3 separate regions of the Homo sapiens genome follow, and regions 2 and 3 are each linked to region 1. Evidence: promoter capture Hi-C in 16 types of primary human blood cells and fetal thymus (Javierre and others, 2016). All regions are on one chromosome and are shown on one strand. Each heading gives the region's core, a stretch centred on a gene start or on the middle of the fragment in contact. The rest is flanking DNA. Distances are from core to core; before and after follow the strand shown.

Evidence for each region. The method cuts DNA at HindIII sites, captures the fragments that hold promoters and counts their contacts. A CHiCAGO score of 5 or more calls a contact.
Region 2: a fragment that was not itself captured here is called in contact with the fragment with the promoter of PHF21A in region 1 in 5 of 17 cell types (M0 macrophages, M2 macrophages, M1 macrophages and 2 more); the score reaches 10.3 in M0 macrophages.
Region 3: a contact is called between a fragment that was not itself captured here and the fragment with the promoter of PHF21A in region 1, in 1 of 17 cell types (megakaryocytes). The highest score is 5.4, in megakaryocytes.

The regions. Positions count from the first base shown.
Region 1 is chr11:46,119,239-46,124,006 of GRCh38, forward strand. PHF21A (PHD finger protein 21A) reads right to left here and starts at 2,216. Exons shown (of 19, transcript NM_001352027.3): 1 at 1,697-2,216. It overlaps LOC105376661 (a long non-coding RNA gene), which reads left to right and starts at 2,907. Exons shown (of 3, transcript XR_931252.4): 1 at 2,907-4,768. RefSeq lists silencers at 275-432, 616-675, 746-825, 2,239-2,298, 2,739-3,048. The HindIII fragment of the contact is 5,748 bases long and covers 1-3,573 here.
Region 2 is chr11:46,239,055-46,243,822 of GRCh38, forward strand. LOC124902669 (translation initiation factor IF-2-like) reads left to right here. Exons shown (of 1, transcript XM_047427965.1): 1 at 1-675. Among named protein-coding and RNA genes, the nearest start is that of LINC02710, 22 kb to the left of the region's middle. RefSeq lists silencers at 141-350, 4,318-4,527, enhancers at 3,372-4,305, 4,306-4,768 and a cis regulatory region at 3,992-4,768. The HindIII fragment of the contact is 2,677 bases long and covers 1,508-4,184 here.
Region 3 is chr11:46,002,315-46,007,082 of GRCh38, forward strand. All of the region lies in intron 6 of PHF21A (PHD finger protein 21A), which reads right to left. Among named protein-coding and RNA genes, the nearest start is that of LARGE2, 82 kb to the left of the region's middle. The HindIII fragment of the contact is 1,841 bases long and covers 1,599-3,439 here.

The DNA.
Region 1 (4,768 bases), core at 966-3,465:
ATTAGCAAAAATGCACAACTCCTTCCCCAGCTATGGGGCAAATCTTTGAAATCTGAAACACAGCCACAAAGTTCACTGTCAAGGCCAGGTGATGAGGCCCACACATGCCCGGACCTTCACTCAGATTTGAAATTCTAGAAATCCAGACTCCCAGAGACATCATTTTAAAAACAACACAATGTGGACGTGCAGAGTGAGATCCTCTACTTCCAGACCTAAACAAAGAATATTTCAACATATGACCGGAATATGATGACACCAGATTCACCAATGAAAACAAAACCTGCCGACCATTAGCAGTCGTACCCTCATCACAACAACTCAACTACTTAGAAATCACTCTCGGCACATCTGCACCCGACAACCGGCCTGTGGCCTTCTCCGGGGGTGCAAGCCACAGACAAAGTTGAAAGAAGGCGTTCTCCTCCGGTGCCCAATCTCGATACCAACCCCTCCCCTACCAGGGCCACCTTGCTGCTACCCACCATCGCGAACGTGGTCAGGGGAAAAAAAAAAAAAAGAAATCCTAACAGCACCGCTCAGCAGAATAAAGAGACCAAAGAGAGGATGACGAGAAGTGTTGGGAACTGCGTGCACGACGGGGCTGGACCAAACGGAAAGAGTCCCACTCCGCGCGCCCCTCCCCCCGGCGGGGGCGCGGGCGGGGGAGGGGCGGCCGCGGCCCCTCTCGGAGCGGCCTGTCCGCCCCGGCCCGCTCGGGGTCCCGGGGGCGCCCCGCGGCCGCCGGCGGCGGGGGCGAATGCGGGAGGGCCGGCCCCGGGGTGAGGGGTGCAGGCAGACTCTCCGGAATAACAAGTTGCAGAAGAAGAAGAATAAGCGGAATTTCCCCAACGCTGCTCCGGCCACCCAAGACAAATGCACCAACACACTCACACTCACACACACACAAACACACACACTGGGGCCCGGCAGCGTCAGCAGCCGCAGCTTTTTTTTTTTTAAACCAGATCCCTCAGTCAACAAACAAGATGGTTTTCCAAAAAAAAATTTTTTTTAATTAAATAAATAATCATAATAAAAACTTCCCCCCGACAGCATCCCGGGGTGGGGTGGGGGGGATGGAGGAGCCCCAGCTACCTCCCCGGCCGAGGGACAGCCGAGGGGGGGCGGGCGAGGCTCCGTGCCCCCCGCCCCCGCCCGCAGCCCCCGGCCGGCCCCCCGCCGGGACAATGTGACGCCCCCTCCCCGCCGCCCCCGGCACGCCGCCTCTGTCACCGGCTCCGGCCCTGCACTCTGCGCCCAGGCTTCCGAGGCTGCTCATAAACTTACTTCCAATTTATCCTGGGGAGGGGTGGAGGGCAGAGGGGAGGGGGGGGAGCCAAGGTTTTCCCATTGTCTTTTTTTTCGGGGGGGAGGTATGGGAAGGGCACGCAGGGGGGCGCCCCGAAGGGGAAGTTATTGCTCAAATCTCAAGTTGACTGAGGGGTCCTGACGAGAACACCCCCCTTTCCCTCCTCCCTCCCACACACCCCTCCCCTCCCCCTACCTCCCCCCACAACAAACTCCAAGCAGGCAGCCCCTGATCCTCCCAGAGACAAACACCAGCGACAAGACAGAGGGAGAGAGGAGAGAGGCAGAGGGGGAAGGGGGAGGGAGGGGAAATAGAGCTACTCCAGAAAAAAAGAGAGAGAGGAGAGTGAGAAGAAGAGAGAATGGAAAAGCTGGGATACTGCACCCTCCTGCTGCTGGCTGGCTGTCCCCCCTGGCAGCTGGAGGCAGGAACTCTGAGCAGGAGAAGCAGGAGGAGGAGGAGGAGGGAACTCTTCTTCATGGGGAGGGAGGGAAGAAGCTGGAGCTGCTGCTGCTGCTTCTGCTGCTGCTCTGGGCCTCTCGCACTTTTTAGATATTAGTGTGTTAAGATGGTAGGTTGTTCCCTTCTCCCTCCTCCTCCTCCTCCTCTCCTCTCCTCTCTCTCTCACTCACTCTCTCTCTCTCTCTCTCTCTGGGCTGTTTCTTTCCTCCTCTTCCCCAGGCAAGGGGGGGTGGGGAGGAGGGGGTTGGGGGGAGGAACTGGATCCTCCTCCTCCTCCAGGAGGGACACACACAGGCCCCGGGCCGGAATCGGGAGGGGGGAATCAGAGCAGCAGGAGAGAAACTGTAGGAGACAAACAAGCCCAACTCTTCATCCTCCTCCTCCTCTCAGCAGCAGCAGCGAGCACCACCAGCCCATTCACCACCCGGCCCCGGGCCGCAGCACCTCCGCCGCCTCAGCCCGGGGATCCCTCCGCCCAGGCCCAGACACACTCGCCCGCGCGGGAGCCCGCCGCGCGGCCCCGCCGGCCCGCCGCCGCCGCCGCCGTGCGCGCCCCCGCCGCTCCCGAGAGCCGGGCGAGAGGGACTGGGGCTGGGAAAGCGGGGACGAGGGCGAGGGGAGAGGAGGCGCCGGGGGAGAGCGGGCCGCGGCGGGGAGGGAGGGGGCCGCCGGGCGGAGTGGTACGGCGGCCGGCCCGGGCCCCCGCGCCTCGGCCCGCGGCTCCCGGGACGCTCGGGTCCCCCCACCGGGGGCGGTGGGGCGTCGGCGGGGGGGGCGACGGGGGCCCGCGGCGGCGCTCGGGCGGGCGGACTACTTGACGTGTCGGTGCGGCGAATTTATTTCACTTTGCCTAAGGAACGGGGTGTGCTGCGGCACCCATTGCCTAGGGAAAAAACCCGGATGTAAAGTGAGTGAAACTAAACTAGAGTGAAGTAGGGCAGCGGCAGCCAAACTCCAGTGCAGCGGCGGCGGCGGCGGCGGTGATGGGGCCGAGCACCGAGCGGCGGCGAAGGCAGCCAAACTCCGGGGCCCGTGCAGCGCCGCAGCTCGGCTCCCGTGCAGCCGCAGCCGAGGCGAGGCCGGAGCCCGCGGCGGCCCCCCCAACTCCGCGGCCCGAGCCCAACTCCCCCCTCCCGCCGGCGGGAGCTGCAAAGGGGCTCCAGAGCGGCCCCAACTCCCTCCAGTGCAACAGCAGTTTGAAGGGGGGGGGGGAAAGCCGTGAGGGGCAGGAGCGAGGAGAAGTGATGGGGAAGCACTGCAATGGGGGAGCGTGGTCCAGGCAACAGGAGAAAGATGCAACCTCAAGTCGAATGCAACATGCAATCCCCGGCCGCCGCTCGCCCGCTCCCTCCCCTCGCCACCCCGCCCCCTTTCCAAATAACTACCCTTGAACCACTTTATTAGCAGTACTTAGTCCAGCACTCGCTCCCGGGAGGGGCGGGGGACGGGGGCCTTCGCTCACCTTTATTTATTGCTGCTTTCTCCCCCCTCTCCATGTTTTTTATTCCTAAGTTCTTTTGTTCTAAGGGGGATGATGGCATTTACTTTTCTGCTTTGTGTAGCAGGGCAATCACTGGGAATCGGCCACGTATAATCCGGCGGTTTGTCATATTTTATTAGTGAAAGTATTTTATGCCTATTCTACCTCCAAGGACTGTAACATGGAGAATTGCAGGGAGGAGAAAAACATCAGAAGAATTCTTGTTTTGAGAGATTTCTTGGCGGGGCGGGGGAGGGCCTTTTTTTTTTTTTTTGGAGGGGGTTTATTTAGATTTTCGAATCGATAGTTTTCAACTTGAAGCTTAACGTTTTTGTATGGATGTATTACCGGATTCTAAACCCCCAACCACAATAAATTTTTTAAAAGTAAAAAATCTTAGATTAAAAAAAACCCCTACTGGACAGTGATATTATCTGATCTGTGCAGCACTCTGGACTTAACATAGTGTTGGCCTTCGAATGTTAAATAACAATAAACCCCAACCTCAACTGAATACAAATGGGGGGGTGGGGGGTTTTGTTTTTAAAGCTCAGCACTTTTGTAGCAACTGCCACTACGCATTTTCCAGGCATTGATTAGCCATGCAACTCCCATAGGCATGAAATCCAGTTTTTGCAGATAAAGAGCAACAGTGGTGAGATGATTTGCCCAAAGTCAAAGTGAGTCATTCGCAGAACCAGAAATAGCCTTGGACTTTACTAGTCACATCTTTTCCATTAAATAATATTTCTATTACCTTGTTATGTATTTTCACAAGAGGTGCTTTGAGATCATTGGATATGAAGGTATTTTTTTACTTTCGTGACCTGCAAAATTAAGTTTAGTTTCTCAAGAAAAAGCAATTTTTAAAAATTCTGATTTCTTAAAAAATAAAATATGGACTTTATGGTACATGTGTAGGCCATTTAGTAGTCTGAGCTTTATGTTAAAAAAAATTCACAGCAGCGAAAGTGTAAGAGTTTGAGAGTGAAAATGAAAATTCCTATAAATGATTCAAGAAGCCTAGATGAACTCATAATGTTGTGAAACTAAACCCATAACGCAGTCAAGATGAATAACGGGAGGACAGGTTGGGTAGTAAGACCCAGCTTTACCATCTAGAGCTAACTGTAATGTATTTAAAATGAGGGAGGGGGTCTTTCAAGCTGGACCCACTGGCCAGTCACTGGAACTATAACCTAATGGTGTGATTTCAAATCATCCCAGGCTATCAACCTTTTTTCATAGGAAGACTGCTTTGGTGTTCTTTCTGGAAAAAGAAGGTAAAATTTTTTTTGGAATTTCATAGAAAAAAATCCAGAACCTCTAATTGTATCATGCTATAGAACTGGGGTTAGCAAACTTTTTCTGTAAAAGCCCAGATAGTAAATATCGTAGATTTTGCATCCCATACAGTCCCTGTCACAACTTCTCCACTCTATGCTGTTATAACCCAAAAGCATCTATACGACAACATGTAAATGAATGAATCTGGCTATGTTCTAATACAATTT
Region 2 (4,768 bases), core at 1,596-4,095, 120 kb after region 1:
GGGTCCCAGAGGCGCAGCCCCTGCGGGGTTTGGATGGGTTCCTGCGGCCTCCGATCCGCTGGTGAATTGGGTGTGTCTGAGCATCGTCCCCGCTCAGCCCGCAGGCGTAGGATAGGGAGGCGTCTCCGGGAATCTACTCCGGGACGGGTCCGCGGTCCTCAGTCGGGATGGAGCGGGGGCGGAGGCAGCCGGAGGGAACTGGAGTCCCCATTGCAGAACTGCGGGGCCGGGCTCTGGGCTGGGCGCCTGCCCCGCGCGGCCGGCAGAGGGCGCTGCCGCACACGCCTTGGATCTCACTGTCACTGGGACCTCGGGGCAGGCTGACGTCGGCCTGCAGACGCCTGGACTCAGAACCCCGAAGCAAGAAGCTTCCCTTCCTGGTGGCTGCCATCCCTCAGGCCCACCATTTCAGCCCTGGACCTGCTTTCCCTGACCACTTTTCCCCATCTTCTGTGCTCCTGCCATCCCACCACTGGCCTTCAAGACTTCCCCAGTCCCTGCACAGCGGGTTTTGTCATCTGCTGAGAGGCGCGGACACTGATTCCCATCCCATTAAAAGGCCTAGATGTCTGCAAGTCAAATTCAGCCTTGCTTCCCCTTCTCGCCCTCTGGTGATTTAAAATAGGGATACATCATCTACTTGGAATAAATGACTAATTTTTCTCTTCTCCAAAATACGGTGGGTATGGGGAGGGTTGGTTAAGTAGGCGCACACAGATGAAAGGATCTATTTTCATAATAGCTACCGAGTACAGAGTGCTTCTTTTGCGCTGAGCCCTTTATGTGCTTTGACTCATTAATCCTCACTACAGCCCTAAGAGGTGTGGATGATGATTGCTGTTTGATGGATGAGGTCACAAGGCTGGTAAGTGGCAAAGCTGGGATTCTTCCCAGGAGTGTCTGACTTTAAAGCTATGTTCTCATCACCCAGAATGTACACGCTGAAACAACTGAACAGAAGAGGTAAGATGCAAATCATGAAAAACAAATCAAAATCTACGCTGAGAGTGCATAGAAATACCACATGTCATGGGAGGCTTGACCAGCTTGAGTCCCCAATGTGGGACTCAGATGTTGAACAGAAAAACAAAACCTAAAGGTGCAAGGAGAGAATAAGAATGAGGCTTTTGGCTTTAGCTTGGAAGAGCATCCGGAGAGGCCCACTCACTTTCTATGTCTGGGCTCTGAGAAAATAAAGGTGGTTCTAGGAAAATCTGAAAAGTATGGGAGAAAGAAAAAAAAAATCCCTTTTGTGGTTTTTCCTTTAACCAAGCCTCATTTTGCTATTTGTGTTTTATTTTAAAATTAATGTGGCTCTCCCCACCCTTTAAATTGGCACATAAATAGCAAAAACAGAAGGAAAGCCAGCTACAAACTTAAAATGTGGTGGGTTTCTCAGGAAGGAGGTACATGACTTGAAATGGAAATGAGGATTAAATGAGATGCCTTAAACATTTCAAAAACAGACTTTCCACAAGGAATTTAGATCATAAGCCCTTAGGGCAGAAGCTTTGTCTGGGTCTGGGCTTGGTATAGTGTCTAGAATCTGTGAGTGCCCAATGAATGTGTAAAACAAATCACCCTTTTAGTACATGCTTGCATCATCTGACCATCTGGGCTACCACGTTGCTTATGGTTTTATTTATTATTATTATTATTATTTATTTTTTGAGACGGAGTCTCACTCTTGTAGCCCAGGCTGGAGTGTAATGGCACAATCTTAACTCACTGCAACCTCTGCCTCCTGGGTTCAAGTGATTCTCCTGCCTCAGCCTCTCGAATAGGTGGGATTACAGGCACCTGCCACCACACCCGGCTAATTTTTGTATTTCTAGAAAAGATGGGGTTTCACCATGTTGGCCAGTCTGGTCTCGAACTCCTGACCTCAGGTGATCCGCCCACGTCAGCTTCCCAAAGTGCTGGGATTACAGGCATCAGCCACCACGCCCGGCCTGCTTATGGTTTTGAAGTGTTGCTTCTGGGGTGATATTCCTGTCCTCTAGATCTCAGTCACTCCTCAGACCCCTCCCTTTTCCAGAAATTTGCTCTGGAAATTCAATCAAGGTGAGGCAATAGGTGATGATGTCACTAGGCTTGGTGAAGTAGAATGACTGCTCAGCTCTGGAACCACCAACTGGAGGTTTTTCCAAACGAGGAAAACAAAGTCATGGGACTTGTCACTTAATAGTTCTGACTGTATTGCCCTGTGCCTTTAAACTGGAAGAATTCCCCCTCTTCACCCAATACCCTGGCCATCCCAGGTGGCCTCCTGCAAAATTATTGGACTTCTTTGCCCTTTCCTCAGTCTGCTTCTTCTTCCCTCCTTCTTTCAGTACCTTCACTCCACAGACATGTATTGAGAGCCCATTATATGTAGGTGCTGGGAGGACAGCAGAGAACCTAGCATGAGCTCATGGGCTCACCTTCTCCTGTTCCCACCTCCACCTGGCTCCTTTCTTCATGGCTCCAACTTTCAGGTTTGGCTCCACCATAGTAACTGACTTGCTTCTCCATGTGGGAACAACTACTCAGACACTTTTTTTTTTTTTTTTTTTTGAAACGGAATTTCACTCTTGTTGCCCAGGCTGGAGTGCAGTGGCACCATCTCAGCTCACCGCAACCTCAGCCTCCTGGGTTCAAGGGATTCTCCTGCCTCAGCCTCCCGAGTAGCTGGGATTACAGGCATGCACCACCACACCCGGCTAATTTTGCATTTTTAGTAGAGACAGGGTTTCTTCATTTTGGTCAGGCTGGTCTCGAACTCCCGACCTTAGATGATCCGCCCACCTCCCAAGTGCTGGGATTACAGGCATGAGCCACCATGCCTGACCAGACACATCTGACATTCTATCAGCTCCGGGCAGCTTCCTGAGACCATACCTGCTGACTTTAGAACCCCACCTTGGGGGTACCCATTTGGCAGGTTTGGATCCTGATGGACCTTCAGGAGCAGAACTTGGGAATGTTCTAGCTCCAGGACCTGCCAATGCCGTCCCATCCTTTCCTAGTTGGCTTTCCTTCCATTCATAAGAACACTGTGACAACTGAAATAATTCAGGTCATATTTATGAAACATCTATTACAATGAGAATCCCATAGTGACATAATACTCCACTGTTCACAGGAAAATGCTAGCTAAAACAAACAACAGTGACTGTCTGGCAAGGGACGCATCGAATAATGCTTATGAGTCTTTTGGGTCTTTTTTTTTTTAATCTTGGGATCGAGTGATTGATAATAATGAAGGGGAAGGAAGACATTAGGCCTGTTTTAGTTCTCAGAATTATTCACAGGGAATAGACTTTCACCATCAACACCCTAAAGATGCAGAATGCTCAAGGTAAATTGCCAGTTTTTGTCTTTCTGGAAAATCCATTAATACTGAATGATCTTGGTCTTGACCCATTCCAAAAAAAAAAAAAAAAAAGAGGATTGAGCCATGGGATTCAGATTATGTCCTTGAAAATCCCTTTAAAAACTAGATTCCAAATCAGTGCTCTCATTCTTCTTGAATATCCCACCCACCAGCTTAGCTTGTCCTATCCCTTCTAGATACAGCATTATTTTCTCTCTTTGAGGAAGAATGGCCCAGAGGCCGGAAGAGTGAGGGAACGTAAGAACGACTTTTCCACTGACCTGAGTTGCTAAAGCCATTTGGACCCAGAGAACTCATTGTATATGTGTGCTGCTCAATATATATGTGTGCATGAATTTGTGGTTGTGCATTTTCTGGCTAATATCCAAAGTCTTCATAACAAGGGGCCTGAGATACGACAAAAGGAAGACCTATGTGTCAAGGACGTGTGTCCACCCACCAAGAAGTTCTGGATGCCCAAAGGGGCTCCTAGCTCAGGGTCTGTGTGTCCAGCTGCTGGGGTAAAGAGATTTGGAAACCACTGAACATTTCTGCTGGGATCCTTCCAAACCCTTTTGGGAACCGGCAATAGCACTTGTCAGGGGAAATTAGTTCTGCACTTTCACAGAGTGAGAAATTCCTCAGGGGGCATTCTTGTACTTGGGAAGAGAAATCGAACCCAGCTGATTCCTTCAGGGCCCTTGCCATTAATAAAGCAGACGAAGTCCAGTTCAGTTAGTCCCGCCTGGGTCAGGGCGTGGAGTGAGGACAGGAGCAATGGCGTTCAGGGAATTTCACCTGTGGCTATGGCCCTCCTCTGATGGGTGCAAGCTTGATATTTTAGGGGATCGCGTTACCGGCATGTAAACACCGTGAGTGACAGCCAAAGCTCCCAGGCGACCACAGAGGATCTCAAACCCTTCCTATCTTCCTAGAAACCCTGGCAGCCCGACCGGCTGCTTGCTGTCTGATGCAACAGTTTGCAACGCTGTTCTGGGAGTTGAGTCCTGCTGCGGGGCGCCGGGAACCGGGCCGACGCGCATGCGCGGGCTGCGGCCCCGCCCCAAAGGGCGGAGGGGGAGCTTTTCACCAGATGTGCGGGGGGCGGGGCCGGTCGGCCAGGGAGACCTCTGGCAGCTCGCGCCTGCGATCTGAGCTTAATTAAACTTCTCCCGAGGCATTGGCTGACTGATTGACCCAGTGATCCAAAAAAATCAGAGAGGCCCAAATCTCCCCAAACGCACCGGCAGAGCGAAGTTGGGAAGTTGGCTTCGGTTTCCAGACTTGGGCCTTTGGATTCGGCGTCCCTCTCCTGCGCCCCCGATCCGCAGCACTGTCCAGGATCCACAGCTCGGAAGCACAGTCAAGCCTCGCGGGTCTGGGCCCTCACACCACACACTTTCTTAAGAAGGG
Region 3 (4,768 bases), core at 1,269-3,768, 120 kb before region 1:
GGCCTTCATAACTAGAATGCATAGTCCTCAAAATATTTGTGGAATGGCTAATGCTTCAGAAATAAACTAATTTGTAACTTTACTACAATTTGTAAAATTTATTAACTTTCCAATAATAACCTACCATATCTCTTTCCATTTATAAATGATGATTTATTTGAGAACCACCCTCAGCAAATACTTCTGGGCTTTTGAAAGCACTATTTGGGGGAAAAAAAAAGGAATTCACACATGGCCTTTTTCATTTAAGGGCAGAAAGTGCTGTATATTCAAACTTCATAAGGGAACTTATTTACGTCACAGATATTACCATTAGATAAAGGGGATGTCATATACACCTTTAAGGGATATAATGAAGAACTTTGGACTCTGTCCCCGTAAAATGTCCTATGTGTGCAAACATATAAAACAATTTTGCACACATTTCAGGGAATTTAGAGGCACCCCCTCAAACCCCTCCACAGAACTAGTTTTATCTTTATTCAAAAGACCCTTCTTCCCCAAGGCCGAAATTTGTAATGAAAAAAAAAGTCTCTAGAACAAAGCAAAACAAAAAAACACCCAATGTATTTAACATTAAGTAGATCATTGATACCTTTTTACTTAAAACACAGCTCAAATTAAATGAATTCAAATAAAATGAATTAATTGGATAAATATCTGCTACAGAAATTTTTCTAAAGATTGAATACTATGATTTCTAACTGTTTTGGATTTGCAAAATCAGGTAAGTTTCTGTGACTTTCTCTTCTCCCCCAAATAGCACAAACCCATTTAAAATTATCTTGAGACATTCTGAGACTATAAAAACAGGAGTAGAATAATTTCCTCAATAGAATCTTTTTAAAGCTCAGATTATTTCTTGCTTTGAAAAGAAAATCTGTATATGAGAGTGCCACTAAAAAAAGTCCTAAAAACTTTGTGCATATAGTGTATGGAGGAAAGAGCTTGGGTTAAAGGCTAACATTCAAAAAAAAAAAAAAATGCCAAGTTTTCTTTTCACACCATCTATGTGTCTAGTCATCACTCAGACTCTCTTCGGTGTTAATACTGTTACAAAATGAGGATAATACCTATCCTCTCCCCCACTGCTAAAAGAAAAAAATATTTTATAAAACTAAAGAGTCATAAAATATTCAATATTCATAGTACTAATGACACTAAAACAAGAAATTGATAGCTTAAAAATGCTGATGAACTTGATTTTTAAAACACCATAAAGCTGCCCTGCTGCCCATAATGATGATGACATTTTCACGAAGGGCAGAGTGAGAAAACGCTACAATTCTCACTAGGATGATGACTAGTACTTATAGAAGATTAAAAATAAGAATGATATATTATGTAGAAGAGAAGTAAAGATGGAAGTATGAGTATGGCTCAGCACACTACAGAGCACATGAATTTTAATTTGAAAAGTACTGGCAAGGCCTTGCATGCAGGCCCACACAAGTGCTTTTAAAAGCTTCATTACACTCTGCAGACATTTGCCCTTCATCAATTGCTTCCTATGCCAGGATTTCCTTTTTGAGTGTTGCAACCTAATATTCTTCACCCAGGCAACCACAGCCTATTTTGGAAAGGTTCCCTATTTCAGAAGCTTCAGTGCTGTTTCCATTTGGAAATACATCTTTATGAAAATATGTATCATCCTCAGAACAAAAATGCTTCAATATATTAAGTTTCAGCTGTAAGTGATATTTTTAGAAAAGTGGTAATTTCAGAATCTCTGCTTCAAAATTACAGAGTTGGTTTTTTTAAACGGAGTCACAAAGTAGAAAATTAAAAAGATATACCAATGAATAAAATCCTGTCTCCCCTTTTTCTTATCCCATTTCATTTAAAAATGTTTAAATTTATTTTCCATAGATTCTTAAAATCATTGAATTATGCATACTGGTAAGAAATTTCATCCAATGTTCATCTTCATAAAAACCAAATAACTCAATGCAAAAGAGCTCTTAACAGTCAATTTTCTAAGAAATGGTCTGACATCACAGATGGTGTTTTCTATATAACAAAGTGAATCAATTTGAGATGTCTTGGACACTGTAAAAAACTTGTACTTTTGACCAAAGGAAATGGATTTCACTTTTAATAGATAAGAAATAAGAGACACTGGGGAGTAGGGAAGGGGTAGAGGAGAGAAGGAAGTCCTTGTTCTAAGATTATATTAAAAGCTACTTAAAACATGTAAGTGACAATATTTCATAAACTGAAATATTTTATCAGTAGCTATGACAGAATATTCTCTATTCTTTTCTTCAACATAAAAGTTTTAAAGAACTGTGCTCATTTGACCTCTTATCAAACAAAAACTCACTTTTCTTCATATTGGTTTGCATAGCACAGACTATTACTTTTTCATAGCACTTAACTTTTACTGTGGATGAGGGCTGTATCTGCCAGGCCTAGAATGCTTTCCATTGAACTGTCTCCTCAAGACTAAAGGACTCATCATCTAAAAGATGTCTTTGTAAAATACAGTTTATGCCTCCTGAAAATACCATCTCTCCCTCTCTCCCATTCACTACACACATACTTACATGTGTTCGAAATTTATTCCCCTTCTTTATCATGGCTACCCTCAAGAAAAAACACAGGGAAACAGATAAGCACTACACAACAAAGTTTACTTTTTCCCTTTACAATAATATTTGTCTCTTACTGCAAATGTCTCTGAATATGGAAAATGAGATTATGCAGTTAAATTTTAACACATGCATGTATACACCCAACTAATACAGCAGTCCCCCACATCAGTAATTTCACTTTCTGCAGGCTCAGTTACCAAGAGCAACCGCAGTCCAAAAATTCAGGTTGAGCATCTTTAATCTGAAAAATCTGAAATCCAAAATGCTCCAAAATCCAAAACTTTTTGAGCACTGACGTGATGCCACAACTGGAAAACTTCACACCTGACCTCAAGTGATAGATCATAGTCAACATGCAGTCAAAACTTTGTTTCATGTACAAAATGATGTAAAATATTGTATAAAATTTATACAAATTTATGCTTGGGACCAGAAGTGTTTCAGATTTTGAGATTTTTCAGACTGTAGAATATTTGCACAATATATTAACGCCTTGTATATACCAAATAATCTTAGGCAGTTGCTTTTTCTGGTTGAAGGTTTCAAGATAATAAGAAAAGCAAAAACCTCATTTGCAATATTAACTTAATTAATGGGCACCAAATGTTCAGACCTTCCTGTTCTGACTTATAAAACAGGTTATTTTGACTCCATTAGCAAATGCCCCTGATTATTCTCAGCTTTTTATTACATACTAGGTAAATGAAACTATCAACGATCCTTTTACTAAGAAATGTGAACTGCCTTATACTGGAATAGTTAAATAAACATTAGGGGAACCATCAGCACCAACTACTTACTCCCTATGAGCAATGAATAAAAGAATAATATTTGTAGCACAATTAAGCTTCCATAGCTCAAGACGGATCATCCCACCAATTCTGAAACAATTTACTCTAGCTGTATGAATCTGATCATAAAGAAAAAAGAAACACTTCTAATGAAATGTGGAAATGCTTTTTTTGCATGTGAATCGTATTCATTTCTTTAAAAAACTTCAACTTCAGAACTCTCAAGAACAGTAAGAAAAATAAAACATACAATTTTAAAAGTTTATTTGGAGCCTACAAATGCCTGTGGAAAAGCACAATTTTAAACTTTGAAAATGGGCTGGTCTAATATAAAACAGTCTTTGTAGATAAAAAATAATTCAAATTCAGACAAGAGAGAATTAAAGAATTAGGATGTTCACTGTTATTTTACATTTACGATTAAAGAACCAGATTAACTGACAAGTAGATCACTGTTGACATAGTTCCTATAAATAAGAGCCAAATGATTTTAAAATTAAATGTTATAAACTTCATGCTTTAAAAAATGTGTACTCCCAATTTTCATTTGTTTTCCAATGCTTCCAGAAGCCCAAACAAGAATTATTTTAATAGGGCAAAAAACCATGAGAAATCAGTAAATTCTTAATCTTTCGGTTGTATATACAATTAGGGCAAAGGCTAAGTCAAATCCAGAATTAATAAGCACCTAACGAAATATTGCAACTTGTTATAGTTCTTTAGTTTGAATAAATCTGCCCTCAGTGTTCTATCTTCCTAAACTTTCTGAATAACCTCCACAAATCACGCTATATAAATAACAAGGAGTCTAAAAGTTTACTGCCACATTCACTCTCTAAAGATACTAAAATCAGTTCATCTACACAGGCAGCTGTCTGCCTGAGCTAGAGGATGAAGTTATGCCTTAATGAACTAACGCCATCTAGTGGGATCAGTGAGATTTCAGCTGAAACTAGTTTACAACAGGTTACTACAATCTATTCAGCTGGTCAAATGTCTTATTTAAAAAGATACACTTGTATTAAGTATTGAACTGTCTTAAACGCCTATTAGAATGTGATATACTTGCCTACAATAAAAATGGCACAAAAATATTTTAAGACCAACAACCCTCCCTTGGAATAATATTTCTATTCTTTCCTTCAAAGGCACAAAATACAAATCAACAGGTACTAACAATATGTATTTTCAAAGATCTCAGAAAATGCAAAGTCAAAGTCAGAACAACAGTCAGTAAAATTTAAAGATAACAATAACAAGAGCTATTATTTACTTATTAAGTGCCTAGCATATGCCACACACTTCACAGTTTTAATCTTTAGAGCGTTCCTGCAAGCTCGTTTTACAGGTGATTTCCCATTACAAAAACACTTAAATATAGAG